Linked DNA regions of Homo sapiens: region 2 is linked to region 1. The links are contacts of gene promoters, found by promoter capture Hi-C in human tissues and cell types (Jung and others, 2019). All regions are on one chromosome and are shown on one strand. Each heading gives the region's core, a stretch centred on a gene start or on the middle of the fragment in contact. The rest is flanking DNA. Distances are from core to core; before and after follow the strand shown.

Region 1 (2,994 bases), core at 123-2,622:
CATCTCTTTATTTCAATAATATTTTGCTTTATATATTTTAAGAACTGTTATTCCATATAAATATGGAAGTATCAGCCCTGTACTTTTTAGGTAAATGTATAATAGAAAATATTAAGTAAGTTTAATTATTGAGATATAAATACTTCAGTCTGTGCTGTTCTCTCTTTTTCCTGTTCAACTACTAAAATCAAAATAATAATACAATAGTCACTATAAACTGCCAGTCTTCTTTGTGTCACATATTTTATACATTGTTTATAATTATTACATTTAAAAATAGATATTACCCTTCCTATTTCATAACGTAGTCAATTTATGACATGTAATATAAGGTAAACAATGTTACAGGGATTTGAGTGAGCAAAAATTTGTCTGAATCCAGAAGTCTTCTCTCAATGTCCATGACTACAATTAGTTCCATTGTATTTTCCAATGCATGTTTAAATATCTTACATTCAGCCATCATTGACTATTGTTGAAGTTGATTTTTAATCATTTGTTGCCTGAACTTCAGAAATCCTCTTAAGATTAATCATCACCGATTGTCCAGACTGAGCTCTAAATTGCCCATGCCTATCATAGCATGTTTTCCAATTCATCACTTCTTGAACTGTCACAAACTATAGTATTACGAAAAGTGTTGTATTTCATTGTAAATGTGTGAGCTAATATGTTGGGTTTTAATATGTCACTAGTTTTAGCTTGGGGACCAGTTTGGCACACATGTAAAATTTTACACAGATGTGTTAATTCCTCTAAACATTTTAATTTATTCCTAAAGCTTGTATTTGTCCACAATAGATTTTCTCTTAAAACAATGTTTTTAGTATCATGCCAAGTGTTAGCTTTAAGGACAGCCAGAAAAAGAGAAAATAATTATGTAAACTAAATTTCAACAGCATTTCCCTGCCTTTTGAGATCAGTAAGATTGATTCAATGTATTTTCCACTGAGTTCAACCTGTATCTCAAGAATTTTCAAATTTCATCAGAATTTATGATCACTTTCAGCTCTTAAGTCCTGCTTAGTGTGAATCAGTTTAGGGATAATCTAAATGTCCAATATGTATTATTATGTTTTGCATTATATTGTTTTAGATGTGGATCACTATACTTTTTCTTAGTTATGCCAAACTACTTATAGAAACTCTTATATGTGTAAAGGACTACTGAGTTATAGGGGATGTAGAGATTTACACTGCCAAAAGGCTCAAGATGTAATATTCTATGTTAGATATTGATGTTCCTAAAGTTCCCTCTCTCCTTCCAAATCTTGGGCTTCAGATTCCGATCATGTAGGTTAAATCATCTTTTGTTGATTACTCATGTTTTTAGTTTCTCTCTCCAAATTCCTATTGATTTCCAAATACAAAGCAGTTTAGTTGTGTCTCTTGACATGGGCAGAGTTTCTCTTGCCCTTAAAGTCTTACTTTCCACTTCTAAATACCTTCCAAGATGTTTTCCTCCACAAACACAATATCTTCCTTAAAAGATAGACCCTGCATCAGTTGTTAAGCTAACACATCTTTCTCCTCACTACAAATGTATCACTATTGAATTTCTCTCCACAAGTGTGAAGATGGCTGGAGTAGAAATTCTGGCATTGCTTCTCATCACCAGAAGGAAAAATTCAGGTGAGCTCTGTCAAAATGGTGGGTTGGCTATGGCACTCATTTCTCAATCATAAGATTTTAGGCCAGGACAGTCTACTCTATTAACATAGTCTGAAGAAGTGATCTTTCCTTTTACATTTATAGAGTCTTTTCTTACTAGTGATAATAGACATGCTGTAAAGTACCTCATATCCTAAAACCTTTAGTTTTAAGTATACAGCGAACAACTTAATTTAACTTCTATACAGCATAGACAAAATATATGATAAGTGACTATGTCATTTACATTTAATGGATTGGGAAATGTTATTTTATTTAAGGAAAGTTCTTCTGTAAAAATGTGTCTTCTTTGACATTGTTATGTGTCAGCTAACTCACATTTTCAAAGCTGGAGTGCAGATATTTCTGAGTATATATATATATATGTGTATATATATGTGTGTATATATACGTATATATATGTATATATACGTATATATGTGTATATATACGTATATATGTGTATATATACGTATATATGTGTATATATACGTATATATGTGTATATATACGTATATATGTGTATATATATACGTATATATGTATATATACGTATATATGTGTATATATATACGTATATATGTATATATACGTATATATATGTGTGTGTATATATATATATTTGGTTACACATAATACTATTCCTGTCATTTTCTTCAAGAGTTCAAAACTATTGTGGAGTATTTTTATTTTATTGTGTGTACTTCTAAATTCTCACTAGAGTTTTACTCTCATGACAGTCATAAATTGCTGGTTCTTTTTCATGGGAGAGGGTAAGATTTCCACAGGGAATAGCTGCCTTAAAGAAGTATTTTACATATTAAGAGTTCTTAAAGTAATTTTAATTAGTCCCTCCAAAATTATTTTTCCTTGAAGCTGTTTGTTTAGAAAAATTTGGTTCTTGCTTTTTAGCATTAAGCTGTATAGATTTTTAAAATAAACCAAACACATAAACTTTTTTCTCTATCTTTCTTTCTTTGTCCCTTTTATTATGAAATGCATTCTGTGCCTATCCAGCTGTGCTGGCTGTGTGTCAGTAATGTGAGTCACTGACCAATGTTCTCCCACACATGAACAGGAACTAACACAAAGAAAAATAAAAGATACAGCTCTTGGATTTTGCTTACAGCCAAACATTAGGGAAAGGAGGTAATTGTGTTATTTCAATGAAGTTTGATTAGACATATTTCTTTGTATTTGTGAATGACATTGCTATTTTCAGTTAGTTGTAGGAGATTAATGTGATGGAACTGCAATTAGAAGAGAAATGACACTGAGAGATCTTTTAATTATATTTTAGCTAGGAAATCCCTTGACAATATCAGCAAACATTTTTACTAAAAT
Region 2 (2,700 bases), core at 114-2,613, 110 kb after region 1:
TACCACATCAAGTTCAAGGTAAAAATGAATTCAGGAAAAGTGAACGCCAATTCCTAAAATGTCAACAAGACATTAATCTACCAAAATCTTGGAATCAAATTTCTAGAACATTTTGACGAGAATCATTATAATTAAAATGGCATGACAGAATGGCTTCGCCATCAAACAGATTGGCCGCTCATCCTAAAGTGGTTTTAATTATGATTTGACTCCTCTGAACAGTGCACATTTAGGGAGATATTTATCACCAGATGTACAATTAGGTGCCCAATTTATGCATTTTTAATTTATTCAATGAAATATATTAAATGCCTGCTATGATCTAGGGATATGGGTATACAGTACTAAAGAAACAGACAAAAGTATCGTAACATTATAGAAGAGCAGAATTGTTTGAAAAAATAGAAACATAACTTCCCAGGAGGGTGGAGCCAGTGAATGCTGGAACAGACCACTGTTAGAGAAAGTAATCTGATATATAACAGTAAAACATGGGATAATCTCCTTTGAAAATGGATTTTGAGAAGCACATGAGTCTGAGTCAGAGCTACAGAAGTAACCCATGTGAGACAAAACCATGGTCACACACCAAGATATTTTTACATATCTGCACATTCATTTTTCACTAAGAAATTGCATCCTTAACATTTTTTACTTCCCCTTTCCACAATTTCACCCCCCACTGATAATTGTTTACTCACAAGGCCATTGCTGAAAGTACAGTAACATAATGTTTAAGTACTAAGCATTAAGAGAGAGAAATAAATACATAAATGATTCTTAGTCAACAAGAGTTAAAAAGCCATCATTTATTTACCACTATACATCTAAATTACTGGGCTCAGTTGCTGGTAGAATTATCTATCCCAACAATGAGAGTGACTCAGATTTTTCATCTGGCCCCATAAATTATTATGTTGCTCTGGGAGAATGACTAAGGGTCTTTGCCTAGTCATTTAATTGTATAGTATAAGTAAAGGAGAGAGGGAGCTTTAATATTCTCATCCAAATATTGTTGGGTTGAGTTTTCCAAGCTAAAATACAGAGAACTTCATGCTTCATACTTACTTATTTCTTAAGAAGGTTCTTTTTCTTTTTTCCATTCTTTTGTTAATTAGAGTTTGGGGGAATCCACAAAAATTTGGAGAATGTCTTATCTGAAGATGCCAGGAAGGAAAAAAAAATCATGAAAGTAGTCTCTTTCCAGAGCAAGTTTCTCCTGTTTTAACAGTTGAGAAAGTCAAATGCATTGTCTGCATCCTTCACCTTGTATTTCTATTGAATCTTTCTTATCAATATGCTCTATGCATCTGCACAGATTTTACCTTCAAATTTAGCAGACTGGTGTGAATCAGAGACAAACTAAAAAACAACAAGCTAAAATACAAACTAAAAAATAAAAAAAACTAAGTACCCACTTCAGAATTAATTATAATATTTAAGCTTGATTAAAAATAAAATAACAGAATAAACACTGTTGAAGACTAAATTAATCATATGGAAGATAAATTCAGAGCAATATCCTAGGACATACAGCCAAAACACTCAGAAAGTTAAAACCAAGAATTCCACAGACAGAATATATTAGGAGTGGAAATTATCCCAGTCACACCGCACCAAAACGTTACCGGCGGCGAATCTATATGGGTCTACAGTACCTCAATTCTTACCTCCTCAGAAGAAAGAATTTGACTGAAGTGCATAAGGCAGAAATTAAAGCAAATTTTAGAGCAGGAGTGAAAGTTTATTAAAAAGCTTTAGAGCAGAAATAAAAGGAAGGAAATTATAGTTGGAAGAGGGACAGGTGGGCTACTTGAGAAAGCCAAGTGTGCATTTGACCTTTTGACTTGGGGTTTCATACGTTGGCATACTTCCAAGGTCTGCCTCTTTTCTCCCCTGATTCTTTGCTTGTAGTGGGCTATCTGCATGTGCAGTGGCCTGATAGCACTTGGGAGGAGAGTGCAAGGTGCGTTTACTGGAGTTGCAGGCATGTTCACTTGAGGTATTCTTCCCTTACCAGCCAAATGTCCCTAGGAGGTCATATACCAGTTAAACTTCACCGTTTTGCCTCTTAGTGTGCATGCTCGAGCTCACTCATGCAACTCCTGAGATCTTACAGGCAAGCTGTTGATCACCAATTTTTTTAGGTATTTTCTATCTACGGGGAGACTGCCTTTCCCTCGTGCTGGCTGCAACCAACTATTATTTTAGAGAGACAGTTAACAACCGCCTGAACATCACCTGATGGTCGCCTGACATTCCTGCTTGCAGGTTCACCATCTCCTGCCCTGCTCATGTCTGTCTGAAAAATAGAGTCAATGAAGGAGAAAGGCAAAAGTAATCTTTTATTACTTTCATGAGTATTTCTTCTCCCCCCTGGCAGAGCATCTGCCCTTTAAACACAAGAGCTTCAGGTGATTTGCTTTAGCCAATTAATTGTTTGTGGAAGCGATGTGTGCCACTCCTGAACAGAAGCTTCAAGTTCATTTTTCTTTTGTCCCTGTGTCATGAGGCTTGCTATGTTCCAGAGAGAGGCTATTTTTTCACCCTAATTCCTGGAGTGAAAACTACAGGCTATTACTGTTTTACAAAATATTTTGCTACTGTATAATGTTCTAGGATCTAATAACAGATTTATCATTATTCTTGCATGGACTTACTCCTAATGGACATATGCAGTGTGAGAAAATAAACATCTTT

What was found. Contacts are between HindIII fragments. The study calls those that stand out against the background at their distance.
Region 2: a fragment that was not itself captured here is called in contact with the fragment with the promoter of DIRC1 in region 1 in 4 of the 25 tissues and cell types used here (IMR-90 fibroblasts, bladder, mesenchymal stem cells and 1 more).

Annotation. Positions count from the first base shown.
Region 1 is chr2:188,788,501-188,791,494 of GRCh38, reverse strand. DIRC1 (disrupted in renal carcinoma 1) reads left to right here and starts at 1,372. Exons shown (of 2, transcript NR_161166.1): 1 at 1,372-1,632. The HindIII fragment of the contact is 6,834 bases long and covers 1-2,994 here.
Region 2 is chr2:188,674,042-188,676,741 of GRCh38, reverse strand. All of the region lies in intron 2 of LOC105373790 (a long non-coding RNA gene), which reads right to left. Among named protein-coding and RNA genes, the nearest start is that of DIRC1, 110 kb to the left of the region's middle. RefSeq lists an enhancer at 2,131-2,631. The HindIII fragment of the contact is 4,093 bases long and covers 1-2,700 here.